6 separate regions of the Homo sapiens genome follow, and regions 1, 2, 4, 5 and 6 are each linked to region 3. Evidence: promoter capture Hi-C in 16 types of primary human blood cells and fetal thymus (Javierre and others, 2016). All regions are on one chromosome and are shown on one strand. The core of a region is centred on a gene start or on the middle of the fragment in contact, and the rest is flanking DNA. Distances in the headings are between cores, read along the strand shown.

The links. Contacts are between HindIII fragments. The CHiCAGO score rates a contact against its expected background, and 5 or more counts as called.
Region 1: a fragment that was not itself captured here is called in contact with the fragment with the promoter of C3orf36 in region 3 in 1 of 17 cell types (activated CD4 T cells); the score reaches 6.9 in activated CD4 T cells.
Region 2: a contact is called between a fragment that was not itself captured here and the fragment with the promoter of C3orf36 in region 3, in 2 of 17 cell types (endothelial precursors and megakaryocytes). The highest score is 7.9, in endothelial precursors.
Region 4: a contact is called between a fragment that was not itself captured here and the fragment with the promoter of C3orf36 in region 3, in 1 of 17 cell types (endothelial precursors). The highest score is 7.6, in endothelial precursors.
Region 5: the fragment with the promoter of AMOTL2 here is called in contact with the fragment with the promoter of C3orf36 in region 3 in 1 of 17 cell types (M2 macrophages); the score reaches 5.1 in M2 macrophages.
Region 6: a fragment that was not itself captured here is called in contact with the fragment with the promoter of C3orf36 in region 3 in 1 of 17 cell types (endothelial precursors); the score reaches 5.1 in endothelial precursors.

What each region holds. Positions count from the first base shown.
Region 1 is chr3:133,485,182-133,487,881 of GRCh38, forward strand. All of the region lies in intron 1 of BFSP2-AS1 (BFSP2 antisense RNA 1), which reads right to left. Among named protein-coding and RNA genes, the nearest start is that of BFSP2-AS1, 4.6 kb to the right of the region's middle. RefSeq lists an enhancer at 2,198-2,698. The HindIII fragment of the contact is 300 bases long and covers 1,136-1,435 here.
Region 2 is chr3:134,285,294-134,287,993 of GRCh38, forward strand. No RefSeq gene overlaps it. Among named protein-coding and RNA genes, the nearest start is that of LINC02004, 27 kb to the right of the region's middle. The HindIII fragment of the contact is 2,673 bases long and covers 93-2,700 here.
Region 3 is chr3:133,928,518-133,931,217 of GRCh38, forward strand. C3orf36 (chromosome 3 putative open reading frame 36) reads right to left here and starts at 1,295. Exons shown (of 1, transcript NR_161373.1): 1 at 1-1,295. The HindIII fragment of the contact is 5,965 bases long and covers 1-2,700 here.
Region 4 is chr3:134,239,775-134,242,474 of GRCh38, forward strand. The region is part of intron 1 of RYK (receptor like tyrosine kinase); the gene reads right to left. Among named protein-coding and RNA genes, the nearest start is that of RYK, 9.7 kb to the right of the region's middle. The HindIII fragment of the contact is 976 bases long and covers 916-1,891 here.
Region 5 is chr3:134,373,067-134,375,766 of GRCh38, forward strand. AMOTL2 (angiomotin like 2) reads right to left here and starts at 1,381. Exons shown (of 10, transcript NM_016201.4): 1 at 1,276-1,381. RefSeq lists enhancers at 641-1,440, 1,441-2,240, 2,241-2,700. The HindIII fragment of the contact is 9,314 bases long and covers 1-2,700 here.
Region 6 is chr3:133,442,208-133,444,907 of GRCh38, forward strand. All of the region lies in intron 1 of BFSP2 (beaded filament structural protein 2), which reads left to right. All of the region lies in intron 2 of BFSP2-AS1 (BFSP2 antisense RNA 1), which reads right to left. Among named protein-coding and RNA genes, the nearest start is that of BFSP2, 44 kb to the left of the region's middle. RefSeq lists an enhancer at 1-30. The HindIII fragment of the contact is 3,562 bases long and covers 1-2,700 here.

The sequences.
Region 1 (2,700 bases), core at 36-2,535, 440 kb before region 3:
TATTTTAACAATATTAATTCTTCCAATCCATTAGCATGGAATATCTTTCCATTTTTTTGTGTCCTCTCCTATTTTTTTCAGAGTTTTATAGTCTTCCTTATATAGATCTTTTACTTTGTTAGACTGATTTCTAGATATTTTATATTTTTGTACCTTGTAAATGGGATTGCTTTCTTGATTTCTGTTTCAGATTGTTTGCTGTTGGTGTATATAAATGCTACTGATTTTTGTGTGTTAATTTTGTATCCTGCAACTTTGCTGAATTTGTTTATCAGTTCCAGTAGTTTTTTGGTGGGGCCTTTAGGTATTTCTAGGTATAAAATCAAGTCATCTATGAACAAGACCAATTTGATTTATTTCTTTCCAGTTTGGATGCCCTTTAGTTTATGTTCTTGCCTAATTGCTCTGGCCAGGACTTCCAGTGTTATGTTGAATAACCATACTAAAAGTGGGCATCCAGCCAGGCACAGTGGCTCACACCTTTAATACCAGCAGTTTGGGAGGCTAAGGCAGGAGGATCATTTGAGCACAGGAGTTTGAGACCAGCCTGGGCAACATAAGGAGACCCCATCTCTATAAAATAAAATTTAAAAAAATTAGCTGGATGTGGTGTATCACACCTGTGATCCCAGCTACTTGTGTGTCACAGGATCCTTGGGGCATTGCTTTTCTCCCATCCAAGTATTAACCAGGCCTGACCCTGCTTAGCTTCCAAGACCAGACAAGATCAGGCCCCTGGCCGGGCGCCGTGGCTCACGCCTGTAATCCCAGCACTTTGGGAGGCCGAGGCGGGCGGATCACGAGGTCAGGAGATCGAGACCATCCTGGCTAACACGGTGAAACCCCGTCTCTACTAAAAATACAAAAAAATTAGCCGGGTGCAGTGGTGAGCGCCTGTAGTCCCAGCTACTCGGGAGGCTGAGGCAGGAGAATGGCGTGAACCTGGGAGGCGGAGCTTGCAGTGAGCCGAGATCGCGCCACTGCACTCCAGCCTAGGCGACAGAGAGAGACTCCGTCTCAAAAAAAAAAAAAAAAAAAAAAAAAAAAAGATCAGGCCCCTTCAGGGTTGTACGCCCATAGATGGGGTGTCACTTTTCTGGCCAGAAATCTCTGTGGTCAGTGGCATCTTTGCTCAAGCTTTGCTCAGGCCCGCTGGGCTCATACCACCTATTCAGCCTGGCAGGCTGTGCTCAGCTCACGCAACTGGCCTGATTCCCATTCCAGCCAAGGGTGAGCCAGGCATGGAGTGGCAAGGGGTGTGTGAGCAAGCAAGTGTGGGGTCTGGCCACTTCTCACAGCCAGGCACACTGGCTGTGGTGGGGTGGGCAGCTCCAGGTGCTGGCACAGGTGCTGGCTCCCTGCGAGTCTGCAGCTGGACCAGGCATACTGCAAGCAGCTTCTACAGCTGTCATCAGGAAACGCTGTGGTGCCCAGAAGCTTGGAGATGCCAGTAACTGCAGAGCCCCAAATAGGGTGTCACAGCCCTGGTTCGGGGAGCTCCTAGGTCTGGGCTCCCCAAAGGGCCACAGCTCTTCTCTCCTTCTCTCTTTTCTCCTTCTTATCACCTGCAATGTGGTGAGCAATGGGTGTGTTTCAGCCCTGTTTGTGTTACAGCTCTTTCAGCCCTGGTACCCCAAGTCCCACGTCCAGGAAGAATGAGGTATGCGGGCAAGTGGAGGGTGAGCAAGGCAAAATGGTGTTTTACTGAGCCACAGAACAGCTCAGAGGAGACCCACAGTGGGTAGCTCTTCTCTGAAGGCAGGTCATCCTGATGAGAGTCCAGCTCTCAGCAGAGAGGAGACCCACAGTGGGTAGCTCCTCTCCGCAGGCAGATCATCTTGATGTCTGCCGAAGTCTGGCTGAGTCCAGGGTTTTTATGGTCTTCAAAGGGGAGGAATGATCAGCAATGCACGCTGATTGGCCTATGGGCGGCCATGGGTGGGGAGAGGCTGGGCAGCAGAAGCAGGCATTTCCAAGCCTGTGAGGGCTTCCCTGGCCCCCAAGACTGCAGGAATGCCCGAGTCTGCAGCCACAGCTGGGCAGCCTCACTTTGCTCCACAATCATAGTGGGTGCCAGGAGCAGAGAGAGGCCAGGCAGCAGGAGCAGGCATTCCCAAGCCTATGGGGCCATGGGGGACTTCCTGGCCCCCGAGAGTGCAGGAATGCCTAGGTCTGCAGGGCAGCTGGGCAGTTGCAGCTGCACCTGGGAGGGTGGGGCTCCTGTCTCTCCAACCAGGAATGAGTCCTGGCTTCCTCCTGTTCCCAGCTTCCACCGGCTCCTGCCAGCTTCCACCGGCTCTTGCCAGCTTCCTGGAGTACACAGCCCTGGTGTGCCTCCCCTACTGCAGCCAGCGTCTTTGCAGCAGCTGCTCCAGATAAGCTGCCACTGCCATCACTTGGAAGGTTGAGGTGGGAGAGATTGCTTGAGCCCAGGAAGTGGGGACTGTAGGGAGCCATGATCATGCCATTACACTCCAGCCTGGGTGACAGATCGAGATCCTGTTTTTAAAAATATAAATAAGGCCAGACACGGTGGCTCACGCCTGTAATCCCAGCACTTTGGGAGGTCGAGACTGGTGGATCACAAGGTCAGGAGTTCGAGAACAGCCTGGCCAACATGGTAAAACCCCGTCTCTACTTAAAATCTAAAAATTAGCCAGGTGTAGTGGCAGGCGCCTGTCATCCCAGCTACACAGGAGG
Region 2 (2,700 bases), core at 179-2,678, 360 kb after region 3:
CATTGGTCTGGGGAAAGATTTATTAAGTAACACCCCAAAAGCACAGGCAACCAAAGCGAAATATAGACAAATAGGATCCCATAAAGCTGAAAAGCTTCTCCACAGCCAAGGAAACAATTGGCAAGGTGAAGAGACAACCCACAAAATGGGAGAAAATATTTGCAAATTATCCATCTGACAAGAGATTAAAAACTAGAATATATAAGGAGCCCAAACAACTCAATAAAAAAAAATCTAATAATCTAGTTCAAAAATGGGCAAAAGATCTGAATAGATATTACTCAAAAGAAAACATATAAATGGGAAACATGTATATGAAGAGGTGCTTAATATTATTGATCATCAGAGAAATGCAAATCAAAACTACAGTGAGATATCATCTCACCCCAGTAAAAATGGCTTTTATCCAAAAGATAGGCAATAACAAATGCTAGTGAGGATGTGGAGAAAAGGGAAGCCTTGTACACTGTTGGAGGGGATGTAAATTAGTACAGCCACCATGGAGAACAGAATGGGGTTTCCTCAAAAAACTGAAGGCAAAACTGCTACATGATCCAGCAATTCCACTACTGGGTATTTGCCCAGAGGAAATGAAATCAGTATGTCAAAGAGATATCTGCACTCTCATGTTTATTGTAGCACTATTCACAATAGCCAAGATTTGGAAGCAACCTAAGTGCCCATTGGCAAACAAATGGATAAAGAAAATGTTGTGCATATATACAAAGAAGTACTATTCAGTCATAAACAGAATGAGATCCTGTCATTTACAACAACATAGATGGAACTGGAAGACATTATGTTAAGTGAAATAAGCTAGACACAGAAAGAAGAACTTTGTCTGTTCTCAATCATTTGTGGGATCTAATAATTAAAACGATTGAACTCATGGAGATAGAAAACAGAATGATGGATACCAGAGGCCAGGGAGGGCAGTTTTGGCAGTGGGGGGGGTGGGGGGAGGGGAAGTTGGTCTAAGTGGAAATGATTAATGAGTACAAAAATATAGTTAGATAGAATGAATAAGATCTAGTATTTGATAGCTCAACAGAGTGACTACAGTCAACAATAATTTATTGTACATTTAAAAATAACTAAAAGAGTATAATTGGAATGTTTGTAACATAAAGAAATGACAAATGCTTGAGGTGATGGATACCCCATTTACTCTGGTGTGATTATAACTCATTGTATGAGTAATATCCATCCATCCTATATCGAAATATTTCCATCCTGTATCAAAATGTTTCATGTACCCCATAAATATATATGCCTATTTTGTACCCACAAAAATTAAAAATAGGCCAGGCGTGGTGGCTCAACGCCTGTAATCCCAGCACTTTGGGAGGCCGAGGTGGTTGGATCACGAGGTCAGGAAACCGAGACTATCCTGGCTAACACGGTGAAACCCCGTCTCTACTAAAAATACAAAAAATTAGCCGGGCGTGGTGGGGGGCGCCTGTAGTCCCAGCTACTCGGGAGGCTGAGGCAGGACAATGGCGTCAACCTGGGAGGCGGAGCTTGCAGTGAGCGGAGATAGCGCCACTGCACTCCAGCCTGGGCGACAGAGCGAGACTCCGTTTAAAAAAAAAAAAAAAATTATAAAAAAGCCAACAAACAAAAAAACTCAACCCCTAATTTAGACTTAACATTTTTAGCTAATGCTCTCCTCTGCAATTGTTTAGCTGGTTAAAAGATAATACATTTTTGAAATATGAAAAATGTAAGACAAATTACTTCCTTCTTTGTAGTCTTCACACAAAGTAACCTGTGCTCATGAACTCAATTTTCACAAATTTCACAGCTTCCTGAACCACAGCTAGACTCAATTAAAAATATTGTACGTAGATAGGGGAGATGAGGGTTGTGGATTCTTCCCAGCCATCTCTCTATTCTACATCCTCGAATAATTTCTCAAATGCATTATCAAATTCACTGTTTTCATTTCCTTGCCTCTCACATTCATTTGCTAATCCATTCCAATCTGGCTTCCATCCCCCTGCTCATTGCACTGCCTGTCTTAGTTTGTTTTGTGTTGCTATAACAGAATACATGAACTGGGTAATTTATAAAGAAGAGAGATTTATTTTTACAGTTCTGGAGGCTGGGAAGTCCACGGTTCAGGGGCCTGCATCTGGGCCTTCTTGCTGCACATCCCACAGTGGAAGGTAAAGGGTGAACAGAGGGTGAGAACAAGAACAAGAGAGAGGCGAGAGAGAGCCAAACCTGCTTTTACAACAAGCCCACTCCTGGGATAATGACATTAATTCATTCATTCATGAGAACTTTGCTCTCATACCTTTATCACCTCTTAAAAATCCCACCTCTCAACACTGCTCCATTGGGGATCAAGTTTCCAACACATGGCCTTTGGGGGACAGGTTCCAATCATAGCACTGACCATGACTCAGTCACCAAGGACCTGCCTGCTACCATATCTAATGGTTACTTCTCTTTTTTCAGCTTACCTCACTTCTCAGCAGCATTTCATAGAGTTCTTCTAGAATTCTTCTGGCATTCCTCCTACCTCAATGATGGCTGCTCCTCAGCCTCATTTGCTGGTTTCTCCTTCTTACCTGACCTATAAGTATTGATTAGCCCCAGAGCTCAGCTCTGTGCCCTCTCCATTTTTCTGTCTATATTGTCTCCATAAGTGACCTCATCCAAATTTGTATCTCTTGCTCAACTCCTTCTACCCGA
Region 3 (2,700 bases), core at 45-2,544:
GGGGTGGAGTGTGCTGGGAGCACGCGGGAGGACTGCGCCTCTGCTCCTCGGGGTGTGGCGCGGCCCACTCAGGAGCCCCTTCCAGTGTAGACTCCAGGAGGGTACTCTGAGCTAGGAATGCCTTCCTGAGCGTGGTTGGTGGGGGCTCTAAGGCCATTCCTCCAGGCCCTGAGGGGGCAGAGAGACACGTGAGCACTAACCCAGGAGCCGGGACTAGGCTGAGCCCACTACTCACAGCCTGGGGTAAGCCAGCCTCAAGACCCTCCAGGATGGTCTCAGCCTGCATCCGACTGCCTCTCCTGCCTGACCACTGCGCTCCTTCACAGGCCTCTGGCCGGCGAGTTCTCAAGATGTGCAAAGGTTTCCTGCTTCCTTACCTTTGCACACCTTTGCTTATTCCTTTTGCCCAGAAAGTCTTTCCCAGCACATTTGACTCTCTTGAATTCCAGTCTCTCCCGCATGGCTAGGATCAAGCCCGTTCTCCCATCGCTCATCAAATGAACTCAGAGCATAGTACTTTGCCCTGTGTTAAGGTCTTGTCTTAGCTCTGGATTATATGTCCTTGAAGGGTAGGGACCATGTGTTTGTCACCACCTGTCCTTATACACATCAGGTAGTACATAAATCAAGGGAGGCGTGAGGGACAACTGGAAGGAGCCTCGTTTTCTCCATGTACAGGATGGGACTAGTCATAGTGGCCGCACAGGGCTGTGGGAACTCTGGTGCGATTCTGCCATGAGTCACCCCATCTCCTCCTTGCCTGCAGGGTCTCGCTCCATCAGCTGTCCTCTTGGACCCCGCAGCCTCCCCATCCTGTGGCCTTTTGCCCCAGCAAATCTCTCCTCTCTGAAGCCATCCTTTCCTTGACCCTGCATCTCTCTCAGCCACCACCCCATCTCTGCCTCCTCTGAGCAAAATCGTCTTTCCCACCTCCCCAGCCCTCTGCAGACTGCCTCGGCCTTGCCTGGGCATCATCCCCTCAGCTTCAGGGACCCACAATTGGTGCTTCCTCCATTGGGAAATCTTTCCAGACTGTGCTTCCCAACCCCGACAGCCCCGCAAAGCTGGTTTAAGTGTCCCGGTGAGCAACTGTGTCCACCTAGGTTCACTACCCACAGTAGAGGGTTTTAGTGCTCAACCATATCTGCTCTTTTCTTCTCCTGAGCACACAGAATATTCTGTTCCGCTCTTGCGGCAGCTAGGCTGGGAGCAGAGTGAAGAGCGTTACTTTGGGACAAAGCATTGCTTAGCAGTGCGGGATCTTCCAGGACTTTCTTCCCCTGCCCCATCCATCATGGCAGCTTATAATGAAATGGAGGTACCTCAGGTTCCAAACAGTCTGAGTTACTGAGACACTGGTTGGGGGGGCTCTCAGGCCAATCCTCCAGGCCCTGAGCAGGCAGAGGGGCACTACTGAGCCACTGACCTGAGAGTCACCCAGATCACCACAGGTTCTGTGAGCGAGATACCATCTTTTGTTGTGTCAAGTGACTAAGATTCGAGAGGTTTGTTACCACAGCATAGCCAAGCCTTTCCCCACTGATTTACTGATTAAAGAAGTGTTTTAAATGGGTTAATGGCTTGGTAAACTGTAAAGATCTGTGCACATTTTAGTTATTATTATTGCTGTCAAGTTGTAGCAGGGCTGGAGACATGATGTGGCTGGAGAGTGGAGGAATGGCCAGGGTATGCCATGGAGAAAAACTTCCTCTCATTTATGATTTGCCAAGGGCTTTTCCAGGATCTGTTTCCATATTTAATCTCTGATGAAAGGTTATAATGAATCTGGTGTCTGGTGCTACTGGCAGGAGATGGACCTTTCTTCCAGGTATTTACTTCCTGTGGTTGCGAAAGATAGGATGTATTTCTTCTGGATTTGCTGCAATATAATATTTTAGTATCAATTTGATACTGACTGGCTTCAGCCTCCAGCTTAACTGTATCTCTCCATCTTTGAGAGTGGTTGAATAAAATCACAATATGGCTTTGTTTCTTGAGCAAGAATCTGCTAAGCAGTCACCAGATGGAGCTGTTCCCTTGAAGGTCTGTGTGCAGGATTCTCAGGGCCTTTTCTTCTCAAAACCCTTCCCTCTTTGTCTCTTTTCTCCACAACTCTCTTTAACTCATGGTGCTATAGGGATAAATTGGCCCTGTTTAATGAATAGTTGTGATGTTGTTGCTAGTTGAATAGAAGGTAAGTAAATGAACTGTTACCTGGTTCTTTTGCCTTTGTTACCCACCTTAATGGCCCTCAAGAGATTCCCCCACTTCCCTCCCATGGGCCAGTGAACATCAGTGGGAAAAGAGGGGCCTCCCCACCATTTTAGTCCATGCTGACTCTTCAGAATGACTCAGCTGGGGCAATTGGGCTGGACCAGAGAGAAGTGGACAGCCTGGTTTGAGTCTAGACCTGGCCAGCTATTATCTATGTGAAATTGGCCACAATGGTTGCTTCCTCGGGATCAGATTCCTCACCTTTACATGGGGCATCCATCATGGAGGATCACCCCAAAGGGCTTTGGGCCAAAGGATAATTGATAGAGATACGGTATTTAGTTATCACTGTATTTGCGCTTTTTCCAAGAAGGGTAAAAGAAGGATTGAATAAAAAAGGTTCCTGCACACTCTTCCTTTTCCGGCTTTTTTGTTCAGCCCTTGAGGAGCGGGATTCTGTAGGGAGAGGGAGTGGTGCAGAGGAGT
Region 4 (2,700 bases), core at 154-2,653, 310 kb after region 3:
AGATGGAAACAACCAAAAAAGTATCAGATGCTTAAAACAGTGTGATAGCACAGAGAGGCACTGGGGATCAACCCTAGGAAGATGAGCCTCTCTGGGGAATTGACATTTTAAGTTGAGATCTAGAAAGTACCAGCCATGTAAAGATTTGGGGAAAGAACGCAAGGCAGAGGTGCCATCTAATGTAGACTCCAGGGTGAGAAGGAGTCTGGCACCAAGGGAACTGAGTGGTGCAGGGAGGGGCAGGGATAAGAGTGGATCCAGGTCGTAGGCAAGAAGAGTCTCTACATATACATTTACATATTTATAAATCAGGAAAAGCTCAACAGCTTAGATATTTGATATTTATAAATTCTTAATTTCTTAATAATGTGCAATAATGGTTATTTTAGATTTTTTAAGAATTTCTTTCAGATATACATATTGGAATATTTTTATGAAATTATGTCTAGATTTGCTTCAAAATAATCTAAGTAGAGGATAAGGAGAGTGAGGGCAAATGAGTGGAGTAGGGGTAAGGTGGTAGAGATGAAACAGAATTGGCTATGAGTTGAGAACTGCTGAAGCTGGATGACGGGTATACAGAGATTCATTATATTATTATGCCTTATTTTGAATTTTTGAAATGTTCCATAATAAATACATTTTTAAAGCACCTTATTTAAAATATAAGGGAGGGAGTATTTATAAATACAAATGCCCCATTCACAGGGGACTTTTTAAAGGTGCAAACTACTGTCTATGATACTGTAGTGGATATAGGACACTATGCATTTGTCGAAACCTACATAACTTTTCAACAGAGTGAATCTTAATATATGCAAATTTTCAAAAAAATTCATGTAGGAGGTCAGATCTTAGGATGTAAAACAGAATATGACATATACCAGTTTTTGTGACACTCAGGTGTACCCATTAAGCTTTTCATCAGGAGTCCCTCAAAGGCCCCAAAAGTCTAGAGGTCCTAGCACAGTATACAAATTTTAGTATGTGTGGACATTCATGCCTTTTTCTAGGGAAAGGGCCTAAGGCTTTCACAAAAAAAGGCTGAGAACCACTGACATTTCTCCTTGCCTGCAGCTTCTTGGCTGAAAAGTAACCTTGCTATTGCTCTTAATCTAATGACAATATCTCATTCATTTTATGATTTCCCTGCAAGGGCATTACTACACAGCTATTGCTGTAAGCAAATAATAAATACCACCAGTGAATTTTACAATTCTGAAAGTTGTGACAAACACATGCATATGCACATAAAAAAGGTGGAGGCCTGGTATGGTGGCTCACACCTGTAATCCCAGCACTTTGGGAAGCCCAGACAGGGTTGGTGGGGGAGGGAAATCACTTGAAGTCAGGAGTTCGAGACCAGTCTGGCCAACATGGTGAAACGCCATCTCTACCAAAAAAAAAAAAAAAAAGATACAAAAATTAGCCACGCGTGGTGGTGCACGCCTGTAGTCCCAAGCTACTCAGGAGCCTTAGGCACGACAATCGCTTGAAGCTGGGAGACAGAGACTGCAGTGAGCTGAGATTGCACCACTGTACTCCAGCCTGAGAGAAAGAGCAAGACTCTATCTCAAAAAAAAAAAAAGAAAGGTGACAAACTATGTATTTAAGTTCCCTTTACAGTATCACCTTTTTATAATATCATATTTCATTTAATCTAAAGTACATCCTTATTTTTTGTGCCACTAAGAAAGAAAAAAGCTATTAACTGATGACTCTCCCCACTGATTATAACATGGTTCTGATTTCAGAGACGTTCAAATGTGGAAAACCTGTACCTCCTGTAATTAATTAAACATGGCATTCAAAACGTTAATTTACCTGAGCCCCATCTCAGATCAATTCAACAAATTGCTCAGGGTAGGTCAAGGAATCTGTAGTTTGTTAAAGCTTCTCAGATGATTTTGGTTAAAGACTAAGTCAACTGTCAACCTTCAAAGGCAGCACAGTAGAGAAAGCACGCACTTTGGAGTCACATAGCCCCACACATCTCTGTGACCTACAGCAAATTCTGTTAATTGCCCACAACCTCAGCATCTCAGCTTTATCTGTTTAAAAACAAACAAACAAAAAACAGTCAATGCCACCGACTTCCTATGGTTGATAAAAGAGAACATATGTAAAGTACCTGGCATACAGCAAGATACGCTCTTCCTCCTCCTCCCTAAATTACAGGTGATCCCTAACTAGAGACTTGTGTGCTGTCTATTCCAGCTTAAAATTTATATAAGAATGAGAATGAGGCCGGGCAAGGTGGCTCACGCCTGTAATCCCAGCACTTTGAAAGGAGGCCAAGGTGGGTGGATCACCTGAGGTCAGGAGTTCAAGATTGGACTGGCCAACATGCTGAAATCCCATCTCTACCAAAAATACAAAAATTAGCTGGGAATGGTGGTGGACGCCTGTGATCCCAGCTACTCAGGAGGCTGAGGCAGGAGAATTGCTTGAACCCAGGAGGCAGAGGTTGCAGTGAGCCGAGATCATGCCATTACACTCCAGCCTGGGTGACAAGAGCAAAACTCCGTCTCAAAAAAAAAAAAAAGATAAGAATGAGACCTATGAAATCCACTCAGCATTATCACTGCTGAACACACAAAAAGAATCATTCAACAACTGTTTATTATGTAACTGAGCAATACACACACGTTTATTTTGGCACATTTTAAGAGGACCTTCACAAATGAATGCTGTTTAATA
Region 5 (2,700 bases), core at 131-2,630, 440 kb after region 3:
AGTACTCCAGCTGCCCAGAGCTGGGGAGTGGGGGATGAGTCTGGAGGGCACCTCTGTACCCATCCTTCCTGGCACCCAGTCATGCGCCCCCCACACACAACGAGGGGTAGATGTGCAAGACTCCAGAGCTACCCGAGGCAAAGCAAGCAAATGGGATTCAATTCGTATGGGATTCAGTTCGCCCTGGAGTTTTATCTGCGGGCATTTCCTATGATAATCACTCTCTGGGCCGACTCCCACAGAGAAGGCAGGGGAGCGGCAGGAAGGAATGCGGAGCCTTCCTGACAGATTCCAGGCGCTCCATAGTGTGCCCGGACTGGGAGCAAGGAACATCTCCAAGGCCTCTCATCGCGAATTTGTCCCGGCCAAGCCCCTCAGATTCACGTCCTTTCAGACATCAAACGCCTGGGCCTTTACAAAAACCTGCTTCCGCGCCCCCGGCCGCGAACCTCTGCTGCACTCGCCCGCTGCGCTCTCTGAAGGCCGCCTTTCTAAGCCAGCGCGCGTCTCCAGCCTTGGCCTGGGCTCCTGCTCGCCTAAGGAACCAAAGACAGTCTCCAAGCTAGGAGGTTCTGGCACCCCAGCCAGGGCTCCCGCCCCACCACGAGCCCGGGCGGACCTGGAGCACCGGTGGCCGCTGGTACGCCTGGGGCGAGCCGGTGAGGGTAGCCCGAGGCCCGGAGAGGTCTTTAAGCATCGCGGGTCCGCCTCCCTCCCTCTCGAGCCCTCTTTGTTTTCCAAATACTCTAACGCTGACGTCACCGGGCTGGACAGCAGGCTGCATTCTTTCTAAGTGAGGGCCAATTCGTGGCTCCAGAGAGGATTTTCCAAGGAAGACAAAGAGGAATTCTTGGACTAGTTGGGGGCAAAGGCACCTGTAACCCCCACCTAACCAAATCAGCCCGCAGGACCCTGCAACTTGAGCTCCAAGCGGCGCCTCCATCCCTGTCCCCCGCCACCCCCACCCCCGCCGACCTGCAACCCGAAACACTGTGGCTGTTGTCTCCGGAGTCGGCCCTCTCCCCTCTCCCCCAGCCCCAAGAGACCCGCGCGTTTCTAGAGCCCCGCAAAGCCCAGCGCGCTGCGCTCCCTGGGCAGAGCGGCCCTTGCCAGGCACTGCGGCTGCCTCGAAAGGGCGCACTGCGCCCCGAGGACGCTCGATCCTCGAGGCTCCGACTCCCGGAAAAGGCCGGGTTGCGCCGAGACTCCAGCTTTGGCTGGGGCACGTTTCTGTGGCCTCGCGCGCTCTCCCGAGCGCCGAGCGGCCTTCCTTACCGCTGCGGCCCGAGGGTGCCCAGCGCAGTCAGACACCACAACCTCCGGCTCGGCCCAGCTCAGCTCGGCGGCGAAGATGTGTTCTCGGCCGTGGCGCCGACGCTCTGGCTGTTCGCGCCCCAGCGCGCAGCCCCAGGGTCGGCCCGCGCCGGAGGCGGCTGCTATGCCAGGAATGTGAGAGTTTCAGGTTCCCCCTCGGGATCAAAGCGAACCACAAATAACCTCTCAGCGCACCGCCCTCCTCCGCCCTCCGCCTTCTCCCGCTCCCTCCTCCCGGCCCCCGCCTTCCTCCGGGGAGGCGGCGCTGCTGGCCGAGCGCCGGCCCGGCCCCCGAGCTCCGTTCCTCCGCGCCCAGCGCCCTCCAGGCCGCGGTGTGTCCGCCCCTGCCCCATGCTTTGCCTTCGGAGCTGCTGGAGACAATTTAATCCAACTCTGCCCATTATCGCCTCCACTCCCAGTCGCCGACCCGCTCTCACCCTTCATCCCTAAACCCATCGACGGGACGACAGCAAGGGCTGTACCACGCGTGTCCTGGGGTTGCTGCGGGAGGGGACTCCGGCTGTGTGTGTGTGTGTGTGTGTGTGTGCGTGTGTGTGTACCGGGGGAGGTGGGAAAGGGAGGAGGGACTGCAAAGACATCCATATCCTCTGGGCTGGGACAGTGCCCCGGGCTAAGTGAATGCTTCCAGCCACAGAGCCTCTTTCCCCTAACCCCCGCTGTTTTCACCCCCAGCGGCAACCTTTGAATGCACTTTTGTTTACAAACACCTTCGCCAGCTATTTTACGACCGTCTCGACAGGAAGTGTGAATCTGGGTTGGAAAATCCGGTCAATTTGACCCACCTACCCAACTGAATCACCCGCCGCCAGGCGCTCTGTCCAGTTCTTCCCCAAGGTGATAATAGGCGCCCCTTTACGCAGAGTGCAAGGTGTGCCACCGCTGGCTTTTCGCCCAGTCATCCGATTCAGCCCTGCCAAGCACCCTCCAACGGAGTTCTGTTATCATCCCTGTGTTGTAAATGAGGACACCAGGGCTCAGAGAGCTTAAGCAGCGTGCCCAGAGTCACACACAGTGAGAACCAGGTAATCAACCACTGGGCTGCTTGGTTTCTCATTCTCAAAACCCCTCCCTGGCTATCAGAATCCAGGCTCCCTAGATGGACAGGGCAGACACTGGGAGCCCTCCTCTCTCCACTTACCCTGTCCTTGCTTTAGTCTCTTCTTTACCTCCCCCTACACCCCTGCCAGCCAGGGGCTTTCCCCTGTACCCACTTCTGTGGCTCCTGCATGGAATCCTCTCCTCTGCCCCCAGGACACTTCCACTGCTAGATGGAAACCCCTTCTTCAGAAAGCTCGCTCTGACACATGCTGTCCCCGTTCCCCATCACACAAGCCCTCTCTACAAGTCAGTTGGGGTGAGGTGGGG
Region 6 (2,700 bases), core at 135-2,634, 490 kb before region 3:
TAGCTCACTGCAGCCTCGACCTCCTGGCCTCAAGAGATCCTCCCACATCAGTCTCCCAAGTAGCTGGACTGTGGGTGCACATCATGACACCTGGATAAATTCTGTTTTTTTGTTTTGTTTTGTTTTTTGGAGAGATAGGGTTTTGCTATGTTGCCCAGGCTGGTCTCAAACTTCTAGGCTCAAGCAATCCACCCACCCTGTCCTCCCAAAGTGCTGGGCTTATAGGCGTGAACCACCACACCTAGCCCCTCTGAAGAGTTTTAATTTAGTTTAATCAGAGTGACATGATATGATTTTAAGAGTTTAAAAAGCCCACTCTGGAAGCAGGATGCAGAATGCATTGGAGGAGGGAGGTACAGATCAGGGAGTTGGAAGGATATTACAATGGGATATTATAATGGGATAGGAGAGCATGATGGGGACTTGCACTAGGGTGATGTCAAGAGAGGTAGAGAGAAATAAATGGATTTGAGATACATTGTGGGGGTAGAATTGACTAGACTCAGTGATAAATGAGATGTGGGAGATGACAGAAAGTGAGAGATCAAGATGATCCCTTGGTTTCCGGGTAGACATTGGGGTTGTTTACTGAGATGAAGAGGATCAAGGGGTGGTGGGGAAAGGGAAGATTTGTGGGGAAATTATCTAGATTTTCTTTTTTTTTTTTTTAATGGATTTTCACTCTTGTTGCCCAGGCTGGAGTGCAGTGGTGCGATCTCAGCTCACTGCTACCTCTGCCTCCTGGGTTCAAGCCATGATCCTGCCTCAGCCTCCTAAATAGCTGGAATTACAGGTGCGTGCAACCACGCCCAGCTAATTTTTTGTATTTTTAGTAGAGGCAGGGGTTTCACTATGTTGGCCAGGCTGGTCTGGAACAACTGACCTCAGGTAATCCACCCACCTCAGCCTCCCAAAGTGCTGGGATTCCAGGCGTGAGCCACCGCACCCGGCCAAAATTATCTAGATTTTCATTCGGGGACATGTTAAGTTTGAGATGTCTGAGAAATAGCCAAGTGAAGACCTCAAAGAGAGGGTGAGTATGCAAGTGTGGAGCTGAGCAGAAAGTTCTGAGATAGACATTTAAATGTGAAAGTCATTAGCACATACAATGCCATTTAAATCTGTGTGGATAGATCAGACCATTTAGTGATTAAAAAAAAGAAGCACCAAGACCCAATCTTGAAAAACTTTAACATTTAGAGGTCAGATAAGGAAGAAAAACCTGGTGAAGCAGAGAATAATAAGAAAGAATGGTCAATGAAGTAGGAGGAAGTCCAGAGAGAGTGGTGTCATGGAAGCCGAGACAGAAAAGTACATCTGTGACAAATGCAACCAGCAGGTCAATATGAGCACAGAGAAGCATCTGCCGGGCTTGGTAATACGGTGGCCTTGTTATTAAGAGCAGTATCACTGGGGTGCTAGGGACTGAGAATTATTTCTCATTCCTTTATTGCTAGAAGCAAGTTATGCTGAACATCCATCCTAAACTTGAAAGTCAAATAAATGTGGGAAGGGTTTCCAAGGGAATCTTGCATCTTGCCACTGCACCAGCTGAGTTTAATTTCCCAGGAGCTCAGTCTTACCCACCTCCTCCCCACACCTGCAGCTCTAGCTGCCAGAATGCCAATATCTTTACTCCAAACAAACCATTCATTGTACCCTTGGGCCCAAATGATAACCTTTTTTAAAACGCTGCTTGTATTTGCCTTTCCTTTAACACAATGATGGTCAAATCTCTCATCCACCACCACCAGCTCATTTATTTTAATAACTACATCCGCAGTGAAAACAGGAGTAGTATTATAGAAAGAGATAAAGTCCTCACCATCATGGTACAAATGACTAGGACTTTTCAGATGACTATGGACAGGAAAAACAAAGGAAAAAAATATATATGTATATATATACATATATATATATCAAGCCACTAGATGGAAGTCTTCATTCAACTGCCTGTGCACTTCAGAAAAGTAAAGCAGGATCAGTGCCAGACTGCACAAACCCATCAAATTCATTCGACATTCATTGAACAACTGCTTTGTACAAAGACAAATAACAATGATGATAATGGCTACCGTTCATGCAATATTTACTCTGTGCCAGGCAATCTGCTGAGTCACACATACGCTGAGTCTCACACACCTTGGCTCATTTAATTCTCCCAGGAGGAAGGGAGTATTATTATCTTCATTTTATGGGGGAGGAAACCAAATCTTAGAATTACTTACTCTAAGCAACTGACCCATGCTTGTGAATGGAGGAGCCAGTTTCCAGAATAAGAAAACACTGTCGTTGTCTACAAAGTATTTATACTAAATGTGGTAAGAGAGGGATAATGTGCCACAGGGGTGGGCTGTGACTCAGATGCAGGAACCAGCCAATGAGGGAGGAAGAGAATCAGCAAAGGCCCCACCATGCTCTCTACAGCTCAGGATGAAACGGAGCGGTCACCCCTAATTGTTTTCCCTCACTCTCCCCATAACTACTGCACCACAAAGAACCGACTGTTCTATCCCCCAAATGCATCTTAAACTAGTCCACATTTTTCCACCTACCCTATGATCACATCGTTCGTCCAGGCCACCATCATTAATAAAATGGGCTCCCTGGACCACCGCAAGAGCCTCCCGACTGGTTCTTTGGCATCTTCTCCTGCCTCCTCCAATCCTCTCTTCCCACAGTAGTCAGAGGGTCCACTTA